Regions from separate parts of the Homo sapiens genome. Here regions 2 and 3 are each linked to region 1. Evidence: promoter capture Hi-C in 16 types of primary human blood cells and fetal thymus (Javierre and others, 2016). All regions are on one chromosome and are shown on one strand. Each heading gives the region's core, a stretch centred on a gene start or on the middle of the fragment in contact. The rest is flanking DNA. Distances are from core to core; before and after follow the strand shown. Region 1 holds the start of PPRC1 (PPARG related coactivator 1). Region 2 overlaps GBF1 (golgi brefeldin A resistant guanine nucleotide exchange factor 1). Region 3 holds the start of LOC107984263 (a long non-coding RNA gene).

Region 1 (5,015 bases), core at 1,773-4,272:
ATGACTATTTTATACAGAAAACTGTGAACAAGACTCAGTTTCCAAATTAGTGGCTTTTAAAGCCTTTTTGAGAAGACAAAGTTAATTCACCTGAAACAACTAATTAAGAAACAATTAGGCTGGGCGCTGTGGCTCATGCCTGTAATCCCAGCACTTTGGGAGGCCAAGATGGGCAGATCACGAGATCAGGAAATCGAGACCATCCTGGTTAACATGGTGAAACCCCATCTCTACTAAATATACAAAAAAATTAGCCAGGCGTGGTGGCAGGTGCCTGTAGTCCCAGCTGCTGGGGAGGCTGAGGCAGGAAAATGGCATGAACCCGGGAGGCAGAGCTTGCAGTGAGCCGAGATCGCGCCACTGCACTCCAGCCTGGGTGACAGAGCAAGAATCCTTCTCAAAAAAAAAAAAAAAAAAAAAAAAAACAACTAAACAGGGCTGGGCGCAGTGGCTCACGCCCGTAATCCCAGAACTTTGGGAGGCTGAGGCAGGCAGATCACCTGAGGTCAGGAGTTTGAGACCAGCCAGACCAACATGGAGAAACCCCCTCTCTACTAAAAATACAAAATTAGCTGGGCGTGGTGGCACATGCCTGTAACCCCAGCTACTCAGGAGGCTGAGGCACAAGAATCACTTGAACCTGGGAGGCGGAGGTTGCGGTGAGCCGAGATTGCGCCATTGCACTCCAGCCTGGGTGACAAGAGTGAAACTCCATCTCACACACAAAAAACAAAACAAAAGAAACAACTAAACAGCCAGGCACACTGGCTGACACCTGTAATCCCAACACATTGGGAGGCCAAGGCAGGAGGATCTTCTGAGGCTAAGAGTTGGAGAACAGCCTGGGCAAGATGTGAGACCCCCCAAGAACCCCCAAAAAATTAGCTGGGCATGGCCAGGCGTGGTGGCTCACCCCTGTAATCCCAGCACTTTGGGAGGCCGAGGCAGGCAAATCACGAGGTCAAGAGATCGAGACCGTCCTGGCCAACATGGTGAAACCCTGTCTCTACTAAAAATACAAAAACAAATTAGCTGGGTGTGGTGGTGGGCACCTGTAGTCCCACCTACTCGGGAGGCTGAGGCAGGAGAATCACTTGAACCTGGGAGGTGGAGGTTGCAGTGAGCCAAGATCGCGCCACTGCACTCCAGCCTGGTGACAGAGTGACACTCCATCTCAAAAAAAAAAAAAAAAAAATTAGCTGGGCATGGCAGTGTGTACCTGTAGTACCCAGCTACTCTGGAGGCTGAGGCAGATGGATCCTTTGAGCTTGAGAGATCACAGTGAGCTATGCTATGATCTGCCACGGCACTCTTGCTCACCGCACTCCACACTGCAGCCCTGGGTGACAGAGTAAAACCCTATTGTCTAACAAAAAAAAAAAAAAGAAAGAACATCTAAGAAAAGGTCCAGAAAAGGTCCTCTCTTTTCATGAACATGTGTGGGGATGTATAGTGATGCAATATTTCTAAAGGGCAATTTTCTACTGTATTTCAAATACATGCATTGTTTAACTCGGCACTTGAATTTCATGGAAACTATTCCACAGAAAGATTGCACAAAAGTGCAAAGGTACATGTACATGACATATGCAAGGGTGTTCATCATAATAATATGTAATAGTGAGAAACTGTAAACAACTTAAATATTATTTATTTTTGAGAAGAAGTCTCACTCTGTCACCCAAGTTGGAGTGCTGTGGCATGATCTTGGCTCACTACAACCTCCACCTCCTGGGTTCAAGCAATCCTCCTGCCTCGGCCTCCCGAGTAGCTGGGACCACAGATGTGTGCCACCATGTCCAGCTAATTTTTAAATTTTTGGTAGAGGTGGGGTTTTGCCATGTTGTCCAGGCTGGTCTCAAACTCCTTAGTTCAAGTGATTCACCCACTTCAGCCTCCCAAAGTGCTGGGACTACAAGTGTGAGTCACCGAGCCACGGCCAGAAACAACTTCAATATAATTTAAATAACAATACATTCATAAAATAGAACTGGTGCTAAAGGCTCAGTAAATATTTAGCTAGTGAGTGGATTAACATATTGTTACATAAAAAAAGCAAATCACCAATTTGTGCCCCTATATATTTTTCCATTCATAGAAAAAAGCGTCAATGAATACACACTAAAAGTAACAAGGGGTTTAAATCTGGGCAGTAGAACTATAATTTGCAGGCCTACTACTTTTTTTCCTCTAAACAGTCTTGTACTTTTTGAAATAATTTTTGTGCTTTGTAAAAAGTTATTTAAAAATAGCAAATATGAAGTAGCTTTTAAGTGGCAAATGAATGAAGAGTAGAGACAGTGATGGACCGTAGAAACGCAGAGCGGGATCCCTCTTGGCTAGGACAACCAAAGCCTTTCCTAGATTAAATAAGGCATGAAATGTTTTGAGGTTCAAGTATTCCAGGTCGACATATAGGCAGGAGAACACCTGTTGTCTTTAGGGAACAGCAAGGAGACCTGAAACAGCAAGAAACAAATTTGATAGAGAAGGCAACGTAAGTTTCTGAGTAGTAGCAGAGAGGGCGGAGAACGCGACATTTTCCGATTAAGTTTGCAGTACTGCCGCAATATGGGATTAGGTGAGGATTAGCGCTTGGAGCGCAAGTGCCCACTAGGGGGTGGTGTTTCAAAACATATACAGGCCCACTTGGCCCCACTTGGACTAAGGTGAAAGGAACGTACAGCAGGTAGAACGTCAAAGAGGACGTTCCAACAGTTGGACAAGTTAACGACAATAAAATACGCAAATGTTAACTTTCCCCCTAACTGCTGAGCGCTCCCTAAATCGGTATCCCAGTGTAACGCAAAACTAAGCCCTACAGGATGCCTGCAGCTAGTGCCAAACGGTCCCCACTTAAAGGGACTACTACTCCCAGGAACCTTCGCGCGAGGCCAGGGCCTTCTTCCAGGGTGCAAGTGGGTCTCGCCGCACGGCTCTCTGGGATTCGTAGTCTTGCAGTGTCATTCGGGAGTTGTAGTTCCTTTCCCACAATCGGCTGGGCGAGGCGGCGCCAGCGATCAGAGCAGCGCTGGGTGTTCAGGGGCCAAGATGGCGGCGCGCCGGGGACGGAGAGACGGAGTCGCGCCGCCCCCGAGTGGGGGCCCCGGTCCGGACCCTGGCGGGGGAGCCCGCGGCAGTGGTTGGGGAAGTCGAAGCCAAGCGCCGTATGGGACTTTGGGCGCTGTGAGCGGCGGCGAGCAGGTGAGAGGTTGGCTGGCGGCCCGCGACAGGCAGCAAAGCGGTGTGTGCCGGGCGGTGACACGTGGACGCCACAGGAAAGAGAGGAAGCGCCTGAGAGTCGATGCCGGGTGGCCGCGGGAGCCGGGCCGGAGCAAGTGGGCCCTAGGCCGTTTGCTGGGGGTAGGCGGGCAGAGGCAGCGTCTCTACGGCCATTCCTGGGGGACGCCGGAGGGGGAGAGCGGGGTGTCGGAAACATAACCCGCGGCTGGGGGTCAGGGGTTCGGACTTGGGGTCGAAGGCTGAGACCTCCATGTAAGGATGCCCAGTGAGGCTCCCCGAGCCCGGCGCCGCAGTTCCCTTTTCGGAGCCACGTGGGGTTGGGGGAGCAATTTTCCCGGGAGAACTTGTCTGCCTCCCCTCCCCCTCTAGGCGGCCCGGGCATCCACGTGGGTCGGGCTCCTGGTGGAGGGGGGCGCAGGCAGCGGGTCCACGTGGGGGCGGGGAAGGAACGTCCACGTGGCTCCCGTCCCAGGCTGTCGGGCATCTAGTATCGGCCTTGGAGCCTGGCTGACGCGAACTGGGTGTGTCTCCACGGGTCCCGCCATCTCCTGCCGGGGCTGGAGGCCCGGGCCGGGAAGGAAGGTAAGGGCTGCTAGAGTCAACTTTGTTCAGAGCCTTGGAGGTTTTTTTTTTCCCTGCTGCTTGGGTCCGCAACGTCTCTCCACTGCGGATGGTGAAGGACTCTCCAGATGTTGCGGGAGTTTGTTCCCTGCGGATGGCTGAGTGTGATGGGGAGGGTAGAGGGCTGAGGCTGAAGGGTTGTGGAGGAGTGAGTTTGTGGCGCTTCCGTCTGACCGGCTTGGGGTGGGTTGTGAGTCACGGGCATTGGCGTTTTGGTTGCCTTGCAGTCTTGCCTTATTAGTGATTCAAGGGGTATGGGGAGTGTCAACATACACCTGGGACAAGGTTAAGAAAGGGAAAGGGAATCCTCTCCTCACTTTTTCCTCCAGCATCTCTTTTGGGAAGGCATGCTCCTGTAATCTGACACGCAGAAACTGGGGTGGTCCGTACTTAAGGCTCTTCGGATTTTTTGCTGGGGATGGGAAAAGTTGGAGGCGGTTTGAGAACTGTTCAACATGTTCAACAGTTGAACATACACTGGATGAGGAGGATTCTGTTAGATATTTTTTTCTTGGCCTTCAAAAAGTGTTATTGTTCTACTCTACAGTGGAGGGCTTCTTAAAAGTTTCCACCCAGGGTAGAAGGGGCAGGAATTAGTTTGAACTGTTACCTCTCTTAAACAATTAAGCTGAGTCCTTGACAGCATTTTTTGTGTGTTACTAGGTGGGAGTTGGGCTGCAGGCTGCCTGGTAATATCAGGTCCGGCAGACCAATCCAGGCCCTTGCCCAGGGGAGAATGGTTTCTGGGGCAAGAATTTGGGAGCGCTGATCCCTTCTCCCCTACTTTCTCAGAGGTCACATCTTTTGGGGCTGGTGCTGCCTACCTACCAGAGCCCCAGGGTCTAGGCCAGAATCTCAAGGCAATGCCCAGCTCTCTATGAACCATTCATCTTCACCTCCATCAGGTGTCCAGTCAGAGACACACCCTCACACCTGACCTCACCCATCACTGAATTCCCAAATAGCACAGGGAGAGTCAGGAAGGATCCAAGATCCAGCTATAATAGTTAAGTAGTAATTTGGGATTGGAGAGGATCTCATGGAGAGATTGTCATTCCCTTCCCCCGAAAACCAAAGATGGGTATATGTGAGCTGGTCAGTCAGCCAGTTATTTATTGAAATACCATTATGTTTAGGCACAGGGGACAAAC
Region 2 (5,015 bases), core at 1,867-4,366, 240 kb after region 1:
CCAGAGGTTGCTGGAGGCATTCACAGAGCGTTGGATGGTGAGTTTGAGTGTCAGGGGCTGAGCCCAGGATCCAAGGTCAGTTTGACTGAGGGCTGAAGAATCCAGCTGCTGTCTCTTTTTTTTTTTTTTTTTTTTGAGACAGAGTCTCGCTCTGTCACCCAGGCTGGAGTGCAGTAGCGCAGTCTCAGCACACTGCAACCTCCACCCCCCGGGTTCAAGCAATTCTCCTGCCTTAGCCTCCTGAGTAGCTGGGATTTCAGGCACCTGCCACCAAGCCTGGCTAATTTTTGTATTTTTAGTAGAGATGGGTTTTGCCATGTTGGTCAGGCTGGTCTCGAACTCCTGATCTCGGGTGATCCGCCCACCTCGGCCTCCCTGAGTGCTGGGATTACAAGCGTGAACCACCGCACCCAGCCTGCTGTCTCTTAAAAAGTCAGAGAGCAAAATTAGTGACCTTTCCACAAAGAGATCAGCTTCTGTTAAGGAGTTGGCAAGAGACTGGCCACTTTCTGGATGGTACCTCTCCTCTGTACTAGCACTGACCAGTGGGTTGGTAGTGAGGGTTTAATTGGCCAGAGAAGGGCATTGACACAGGCGGGATCTTTGCTTTTTCAGAATTGTAATGGCTCCCCATTTGCCAATAGCGATGCCTGCTTTTCCCTGGCCTATGCTGTCATCATGCTTAATACTGACCAGCACAACCACAATGTTCGTAAACAGAATGCACCCATGACCCTGGAGGTAAGCTTGGGTCCCAGTCAAGGCAAAGAAGACCCAGCACAGCTTGGGAGGTAGCAGGAAGGACATAGGATTTCCAGTGGGCATGATGGATGGGGTTCTGTCCAAGGGAATCAGGAAGGGCTGGCCAACCTAGAAAAGGGACTGGGGTGGGGAAGTGGGTTTTTTCGCTTACCTTTTCCTAAGTCCTATTTACTGAAAACCCAGGAGTTCCTTAGGTGGGGCTTCAGTGTTGACACAAGGGGAAAAAACTTACTGGCCTGTCTCTAGGAGTTTCGCAAAAATCTGAAAGGTGTGAATGGAGGCAAGGACTTTGAGCAAGACATCCTGGAGGACATGTACCATGCCATCAAGTGAGTATACATAGAGAATAGTGCAGTATCTCTGTTAAGAAGAAGCACATTGCTTCCTTTCCCAGTTTTTAGAGTCATGTCAGACTGCAGTGACTCACATGCCCTGGATTTAGCCTCAGGACTTAGTTGGGCAGCCCCCTCTCTGCCAACTGTTTCTTCCTTAAAGAAGCCCAAATGATATTGGGACTCTAGTACTCTAAGCCAGGGTCCAAAGTGCTGCTCTTAAGTAGGATATCATGGCCCCATTTTCTGAACTTAAAACAGGTACATTTTCCTGTATAGATTACAAGATGCTGGCTGGTAGAGAACCCAAGATGGGCACTGGAGTGTGAGGCCCAGGTTACAGGTCAGAAATGGGCCACTTAGTTTTTTACTGTAAATCAGAAAAGGTAGAATTGTTCATTTTATCACACCTAGTAAGAATGTGTGATCTTACTATAGAACTAAAGGCCTCACTTACAGATAGGGCTTTGAGATTATGGGACACTTCCTTTCTTTCTGTCTGCTCCCACTGGTGGGTGGAAAGCAGACCACTGAGCTGCAGTTCTGATGACCTCTCATCAGTGGAGAGTGCTAGTATGGATGAACTCCTAGTCTTGGTTTGGAACTAGTCAGGTTCAAAGCAGTGCAACTGCTCCTTCCCTTACCTCCTGACAGGAATGAGGAAATTGTAATGCCTGAGGAGCAGACAGGCTTGGTTCGGGAGAACTATGTGTGGAATGTGCTGCTTCATCGAGGTGCCACCCCTGAGGGCATATTCCTGCGTGTGCCTACTGCCAGCTATGATCTTGACCTCTTCACCATGACCTGGGGCCCCACTATTGCTGCTCTCTCTTATGTCTTTGACAAAAGCCTTGAGGAGACAATCATCCAGAAAGCCATCTCAGGCTTCAGGTAGCCCAGCTTTGGCCTTGGTCTTCACCTCCCACTAGCTCTGTGAGCTAACATGGTTTTCTCCATGCCTCTCTGACTCCTACTGTTACTTCATTAGAATGGGGTTCCCCCTGAGTTTTTGGAGGGAGGCTGAAGCTTGGGTAGGCTCAGTCTTAAACAGAAACAAAATTAAAAGGTTTCTTCCTGGGACTGACTGGGGAAGAGCCCCATGCAAGCTCAGGGACTTGGAAGGGCTGCTTGGCCTTCCAGTGACTCTGTTTCTGGGATGGGGGGTAACATTACAGGAAGTGCGCCATGATCTCCGCCCACTATGGCCTCAGCGATGTGTTTGACAATCTCATCATCTCTCTATGCAAATTCACAGCTCTCAGCAGTGAGGTGAGCAGGTGCAGGAACTGTGTACTTGGAGCTCCAAAGGAGGACCTCTCTTTTAGCCATGGATCTACCCTTATCAACAGACCTGGTTGCCCTCAGCGTCTTCCCTCACTGCCCCCACTTGAATATACCAGAGCTTAGGCCATTTCTGTCTTGCACACTCTGGGATAAAACTAGTGTTACTTCATGTAATGGGGATGGGAAAGGAGATACAGGAGTGGGGAAGGCCTTAACTAGGTTAACCCACTCCCACCAGTATTATGGGGGATTGAAGCAGAGCCAACAAAAGGACCTGAGGGAACCATCATAGGCAGAGACCTAAGAGATTTTCCTTTCCAGACATTAGCTCGGCCTTAAGTCTGTTCTCTTCCTCTTTTCCAGTCTATTGAGAACCTGCCCAGTGTATTTGGAAGCAACCCTAAAGCCCATATTGCAGCCAAGACAGTATTCCATTTGGCCCATCGTCATGGTGACATCCTGCGGGAGGGCTGGAAGAATATCATGGAGGCCATGCTGCAGCTCTTCCGAGCCCAACTACTGCCCAAGGCTATGATAGAGGTAATTCTTAGTAGGAGACTAGTGAGCGATAACAAGGCAAGAGCTGCAACATTGTATGCTACCTGTACATAGAAGTAAGTGGTTGAGAGTAATGTTGGGCCTGATGCCTGCCACAGCTCACCAGGAATGCCTCAAATGTAAGACCACAGATCTTGGGGGATAGCTGTAAAAGAAGGCTGGTAGATGCCATTGCCAGTCACCAATTGGCACAATAGCATAGGGGCAGAAGACTAGAGGAGGAAATCCAGAGAACTTTGGTGGGTGGAGGCGGGCACAAATGCAAAGGACACATGGAAAGAAATTATTTTGACTTACTTTTCCAGGTAGAAGATTTCGTGGATCCCAATGGCAAGATCTCTCTACAGCGGGAAGAGACACCATCAAACCGGTAAGAGCAGACCAGAGGCTCAGGGGCTTGGGGAGGGAGAGTCAGAACTTTGGGGCTCACCAGGCCATGTGCCCTTTTTCTACAGAGGAGAGTCAACAGTGCTGAGCTTTGTGAGCTGGCTAACACTGAGTGGTCCTGAGCAGTCTAGTGTTCGGGGCCCATCCACTGAAAACCAAGAGGCCAAGAGAGTGGCCTTAGAGTGTATAAAGGTAACTGCCCATCCACCCCTGGTGAGAAAGCCTAAACACCTTCCTATTAGATGCTACTTGGTGAACTGAAGAATAAATCATCCAGGATTTGTAACCAGGGCTGACTCTGCCCTCTCCCCCTGGCTCTTGGGGACATTCTGTTCTCTTCAGCCTTTGTCAAAGACCCCCTCTCTCTTTTGCCCTCTCTAGCAATGTGACCCAGAAAAAATGATCACAGAAAGCAAGTTCCTCCAGCTGGAGTCACTACAGGAGCTCATGAAGGTAAAGGATGAAGAAAGGAAACATGGAACAACTGGCTGAATCTGGGAGGGGTGACAGGGACAGTATTATTTCTGTCAGGGCAGGGCCAGTGGTTGGCTTCTTTTCCATGCCTACTTTCCTGCTGCTGTTCCCCTTCAGGCTCTGGTCTCAGTGACACCAGATGAAGAGACATATGATGAGGAAGATGCTGCTTTCTGCCTAGAGATGCTGCTAAGGATTGTGTTGGAGAACAGGTAAGATGAGCGTAGTCTTTAGGCAGACCCCATGCTGGGCTTGTGCCAAAGGGATGGAAGCCATCTTGCTGAGTGGGCTCTGGGGAACTGTAGGCAGCAGGGGAGAAGCTTACTCATCATACCTGTCTACTTAGGGTATAATACCAATGAGTCCTGAAAGGCCTAGGGGACCTGTTGCCCAGTGGCCCCTCTGGCTGAGACTATCTTCATTCCTTTATGTCTACACAGGGATCGTGTGGGCTGTGTGTGGCAGACTGTTCGAGACCATCTATACCACCTCTGTGTTCAGGCACAAGATTTCTGCTTCCTTGTGGAGCGGGCAGTGGTGGGGTTGCTACGCCTGGCCATTCGGCTTCTCCGGAGAGAAGAGATCAGTGCTCAGGTAAGCAGAATGCATCTTGGAGAGTGGGCAGGTATGCAAGGGATTAAGGCCACAGTTGTCAATTATGAATATGGCCTGAGACAGAGAGTACATTTAGTGCCCCATAGCATGAGTCCAGTGACCAACCACAGGGCTGGTGCAGTCTAGCGGGTGGTACTGGGAGTGAGCCTGGAATGGCCTCAGGCATGGAGCTTGTGTTTGGCACCTCAGCCTCCTATGAATCTGCTTTGTAGGACTGGCCTGCTACTGCCTTATAATAGTCTCAGCCCTATACCTGGTTTCCTGTCATGCTTATGACCCTCTTGAGATCTCTTTGCTTAACTACAAAAAACAACAAGCATAGAACTAATAAGTGGATTCAACAAGGTCACAGGATGTGAGATCAATACACAAAAAGTAATTATATCTCTACATGCTAACAATGAACAATATGGAAACTGAAATTTAAAATACAATACCATTTACAAGGGTTCCAAATAAAGTGAAATACTTAATATATAGCTGACAAAACATGTATAAGATTTGTATGATGAAAACTACAAAACTACAAAATAAATTGAAGAAGATGTAAATAAATGAAGAGGCATACTATGTTCATGGATTGGAAGGCTCAACATAGTAACT
Region 3 (5,015 bases), core at 1,094-3,593, 220 kb after region 1:
GGCCAAGGTGGGTGAATCACCTGAGGTCAGGAGTTTGTGACCAGCCTGGCCAACATGGTGAAACCCCATCTCTACTAAAAATACAAAAATTGCTGGGTGTGGTGGCAGGCACCTGTAATCCCAGCTACTCAGGAGGCTGAGGCAGGAGAATTGCTTGAACCCAGGAGGCAGAGGTTGCAGTGATCCGAGATCATGCCACTGGACTCCATCTGGCCTGGATGACAGAGTGAGACTCTGTCTCAATTCAAAAGAAAGAGAGAGAAAAAATAACAACAATCTTATAATTCCTGTGACTAAAATTAGGGGGTGTTCCTGCATTACACCATGCCACCTCTGGAGCAACTTTCTCTGTCACTCACAAAGCTTTTTCATATGCCTGCCCTTTCCCCCTACTTAGGCTCCCCCTTTAGAACTAAACAGCTCTGGAAAGGATCCTTCAGAGCAGACCTAGGGCAGGAGCTAGGCAAGACCCTTGATGGTGACAACTTATTTGGCTATTTCTCGTGGCTATTTAATACATGAATGGGAGCTGAGTTCCCTGCTTAATAGCATTTGTGTTCATTTCCAGCGTGGTGCCGGTTGTCTGACCTCTAGCTTCTCCCCTCTTATTCTGTACAGCTGAAATTCTCCCTCCTGCCTACCCCCCAGCTAGTCAGCCTCCAGTCCTGTTTAGTTTATCTTTTTTCTCTCCTAATGCCTGTTAAGCTGGAAACAGGATTCTTGCTCGTCGTCATATTATTTTAAATAAGAATGAAACTAAAGAAGAGGTCTTTGGGCCAGGCATGGTAGCTCACACCTGTAATCCCAGCACTTTGGGAGGCCGAGGCTGGCAGATACCTGAGGTCGGGAGTTCGAGACCAGCCTGACCAACATGGAGAAACCCTGTCTCTACTAAAAATACAAAATTAGCCAGGCGTGGCGGCGCATGCCTGTAATCCCAGCTACTCGGGAAGCCTCAGGCAGGAGAATCGCTTGAACCTAGGAGACGGAGGTTGCAGTGAGCCAGGATCTCACCATAGCACTCCAGCCTGCCAACAAGAGCGAAACTCCATCTCCAAAAAAAAAAAAAAAGTCTTCAATCTGCTGTAATGTGGCACTCAGATATGAGTATTGGCGGCAGTGAGTGTTCATTTCCTCCTCCTGCTCCCCTAATTCAGTTGCGCCTGAACACAAAACTCCAAAAGCAACCAGAGAGAGAAGCTGTGTTGAAAGATGAAAGGAGAAAAGGCCACAAGCTTTGGCCCTACCTGGTTCTTGTTCTGAGTCAAAAACTCTTGTTTCCAGGCCCCTCGTCTATGAAATTAGTAGATTTATACTAGTGATTCCCAGAGTATGGTCCCCTGCTCGGTGGTGTTTAACTTCAACTGGGGTCTTGTTAGAAACACAAATTCTCAGGCCCCACTCTGGGCATACAAAATCAAAACTTTGTGGTATGGGTCCAGCAATTGAGAACCACAGTTTTACCCAGTGGATTTTGTGTTGAGGAGCTCATTAAAACCAGTTATGGGGCCGGGTGCAGTGGCTCACATCTGTAATCCCAGCACTTTGGGAGGCCGAGGCAGGTGGATCACCTGAGGTCAGGAGTTCAAGACCAGCCTAGCCAACATGGCAAAACCCCATCTCTACTAAAAGTACAAAAAAAATTAGCTGGGCATGGTGGTGGGCGCCTGTAATGCCAGCTACTCGGGAGGCTAAGGCAGGAAAATCGCTTGAACCCAAGAGGCGGAGGTTGCAGTAAGCTGAGATCACGTCATTGCACTCCAGCCTGGGCCACAAAGTGAGACTCTGTCTCAAAAAAAAAAAAAAAAAATCAGTTGTGGGCAAAAATTCTCAGGTAGCTCAAGGAGCCACGGGTTAGGGAACTGAAGAGGAAAAACTGTCTCTCAAAGCTAGACAGGCTGCCTTACCTTTTATCTCTCTCCTCTCCACATCACTTAATCTTTCCTTTTTCGCTGGAGCAGATCCCACCCATGAGGGCACAGCAGAGGGCATGGAGAACATGGCAGATGCTGTCACCCATGCTCGTTTTGTGGGCACGGATCCTGCCAGTGATGAAGTTGTCCTGATGAAAATCCTTCAGGTAAGCGAGAGGGAAATAGCAATTAGGCTAATGGCCAGGGGCTGGTGCCGCAGACTCTACTTACTCTGCCCACAGCATGAAACTGTGTTTTGACTCCACTGGGGCTTAGGGGAGCTACTTTGTTTCCAGACAAGCAGCTGGGGTACCCAAAGTAAAAGCTTTTTCTAAGGAAAATCAGTAAAAGCTTTATATGAAGTGATGTCAAATACCAGAAGCCTTAAATACACTTGTACCTCTGGCCGACTGTATTTGTGCCGTCCATCTCTTGGGCTCATGGGCTAGGGCTAGAATCAGTTCTGAAATATGTCAGGGTCATAAAAAGTGAAGAAACAATTCCAAGGACAAGCTTCTTGGAGACCTCTCTACCAAGCTGAGGTGAGGTCAGCATTCTTGCTAACCCCTCTCTCTTACCCTTGAGTACCTCTCAGTACCTTGTTTATCACAGTAATTCCTTTTTCTTCCTGATAGGTTCTACGGACTCTGCTGCTAACCCCAGTGGGTGCCCACCTAACCAATGAATCTGTGTGTGAGATTATGCAGTCTTGCTTCCGGATCTGCTTTGAAATGAGGCTCAGTGGTAGGTGCTTGGATATTAGCCCCTTCACCATTCCTGGGGCCAGTGTCTGAGTATGAATACAGGAGGCTGTCTTCCCAGAGAGATGGAAAATTCAGGACTTCTCCATCATCTATCTCATGCGATCATAGGGGTCTAGAAGAAATGTCTGTACTTGGCTATTGTGAAGCTAGAATAGAGACCTCAGCCCATTATGCCAGGGCAGGAGTTGGGATGGATCCCAGATTGACTTAGCCCAGGCACCAAATCACCCTCTCTTGGGGTTTCTGGGATTGACACCAACCTGCAACCCCCTAGAACACATCTATACCTCCCCTTTTTTCCCTGACTCAGTAGTGCCACCTAGTGGGCCAGTGAAGTTCTGGCTGCCAGGCTGAGCTGGAGCTGGTTTTAATAAGTTTGGCATAATCCTTGGTAAACAAGGTTTGGAGGGGAGTCTGCTCTGAGAACCCTCTTGATAATAGCACAGCAAGTAATGACACCTGTGTTATTTGTTTTTGCCTGTGCAGAGTTATTGAGAAAATCCGCAGAGCACACTCTCGTAGACATGGTGCAGCTGCTCTTCACAAGGTAAACCTGCTGCTGTTTGCTTCAGCCCGGCTGCCCAGGCCTCTTGAGTCTGCCTGCTTCCACACAGCCACGTCAGGGACCTGGCCAACCCCACAGCCGCATCAGAGGCCACTGGGATTATGGATGGGGGGTAGTTCTCTGGGCCCAGGGTTACTGAGCAAGGGAGAAGGAGGAGGGAGCTGATTTGGCCTCACGGGGAGGCAGAGGGTTATTTAATATAGGCCAGCAGACCTCATTCTGCTTCCCAAATTTGTGTCTGTTTCTGTGCAGGTAGCAGCTGGGAAAGGGAACCCAGAGAGGAAGCCAAACTCAAGGGATCATGATTTCTGTGGGAGAGGGCCAAAATTAGGGTGACTAGCAATTGTGAATTGCCTGGGACTGTCCTGATTTCAGCACTAAAAGTTCTGCATCCTGGCAAACCCCCCTCAGTCCCAGGCAAACCAAGATGGTTGGTTACCCTTTGGTAAGGCCCTTAGCCTAGGGCCTAGGAGGCCTTTTCATACTAGGCCTGTTTCCTGCACCTCCTTTCAACAGACTCACAGAAGAGCTGAGGCAATGGCTTTAAACCTTCCTCTGGGATTTCTTTTTGCTCTCAAATCTATAGATAATAATCCTTATTATCTACAGACTAGACTGCCCTTGGATCCTGCTGCAAAGAATTTTTTGCTCCTCAGGCTCAAATTTACTGGTTTCAAAACTTCAACCTGCCTGTTAATTCTTCTCTTTTGCCCACTCTCCTAGGGTTTTGATAGACTGCCCTCCCCCCATCTCTTGGCAGCAGTATTTGCCAAGTAAATATAAGCAGGAAGGAATCAGTCTCAGGATAAAAAGAGCCTCCACACTCCAAGGGCACTTACCTTGCTCTCACAACTACCTCCTTTTGTCCATGTCACACATCCCCCGATTCCTGTGGCTCTTTGATGAAGCTCTGAAAAGGATGAAATTAGTCTGCTTCTCTTTTGTAGCCTTTTCTAAGACACAGGGCATGCTCTGGCTCAGAGCACCTTTGGTTTGTGGCTGGCATGGAGGGAGACATTTGTCATTATCCCTAATGACAGTTGATGGATTTTCTATCTTATAGGTTACCTCAGTTTAAAGAAGAACCCAAGAACTATGTGGGGACCAACATGAAGAAGGTATGATCTGAGAGCTGATCTGCTGTCCCTCATCCAAACCTTAATCTCCCAACTTCAGTGCCTTGGGGTAACCTTGCTTAGCAAAGATATGCTTTTGCCTAAACAGGTCTGCTTGGAATCTAGAAGTAGCTCTCACTCCTTTCGTGAGAAATGTATTCTCTTCCAGATATATCCCTTCCTCAGCTTTTCTGCTCTGGCCTATCTTTGAACCACCATGTAAGCTGGTGAGCCAGTTCTTCATGGAAACTGCATGGTACCCATCAGTCTTGGCTAAAAATGTCTGTTGACAAAGATGAAAGTCCTGCCATCCCCTCAAGACTTAGCCTTATCCGCAGGTAGAAGGCCTAGAGAGGCTATGTCCCAAATCCTACCTCAATGCTGAATTAGACTGGGCTCTTGCTTGTGCTAGTCTGTATTGAAGAGATTAGTCAAGTTAAGAACCAAAGGGTTCTTAAACTGCTAGGAGAAGAATAGTGGTCAAAAGAATGGCTTCTTTCTATCTTGAACTGAAGCCCTGGACTTCACGGGCCTCTGATGAGGATTCCGCTTGCAGCCCTAAGAGGGTCTACCTATGGAGATGACCCTTAGCTGTGTGATGCATGCACCTGACCTTCTCCTCTCCCCTGTCATCCATCCCCATTCCTGCCCTGTTCCC

What was found. Contacts are between HindIII fragments. The CHiCAGO score rates a contact against its expected background, and 5 or more counts as called.
Region 2: a fragment that was not itself captured here is called in contact with the fragment with the promoter of PPRC1 in region 1 in 1 of 17 cell types (M1 macrophages); the score reaches 5.4 in M1 macrophages.
Region 3: a fragment that was not itself captured here is called in contact with the fragment with the promoter of PPRC1 in region 1 in 2 of 17 cell types (M1 macrophages and activated CD4 T cells); the score reaches 7.8 in M1 macrophages.

What each region holds. Positions count from the first base shown.
Region 1 is chr10:102,130,018-102,135,032 of GRCh38, forward strand. It overlaps PPRC1 (PPARG related coactivator 1), which reads left to right and starts at 3,023. Exons shown (of 14, transcript NM_015062.5): 1 at 3,023-3,204. The coding sequence starts at 3,052. RefSeq lists an enhancer at 2,846-3,125 and silencers at 3,106-3,285, 3,496-3,545, 3,576-3,695. The HindIII fragment of the contact is 8,495 bases long and covers 1-5,015 here.
Region 2 is chr10:102,366,470-102,371,484 of GRCh38, forward strand. GBF1 (golgi brefeldin A resistant guanine nucleotide exchange factor 1) reads left to right here. Exons shown (of 40, transcript NM_001377137.1): 19 at 1-37; 20 at 616-741; 21 at 1,009-1,091; 22 at 1,749-1,985; 23 at 2,270-2,363; 24 at 2,742-2,918; 25 at 3,242-3,306; 26 at 3,392-3,515; 27 at 3,705-3,776; 28 at 3,915-4,009; 29 at 4,238-4,391. Among named protein-coding and RNA genes, the nearest start is that of NFKB2, 27 kb to the right of the region's middle. The HindIII fragment of the contact is 1,997 bases long and covers 2,119-4,115 here.
Region 3 is chr10:102,349,295-102,354,309 of GRCh38, forward strand. It overlaps GBF1 (golgi brefeldin A resistant guanine nucleotide exchange factor 1), which reads left to right. Exons shown (of 40, transcript NM_001377137.1): 5 at 1,962-2,080; 6 at 2,549-2,657; 7 at 3,164-3,224; 8 at 4,306-4,360. It overlaps LOC107984263 (a long non-coding RNA gene), which reads right to left and starts at 2,022. Exons shown (of 2, transcript XR_001747574.3): 1 at 1,908-2,022. The HindIII fragment of the contact is 162 bases long and covers 2,263-2,424 here.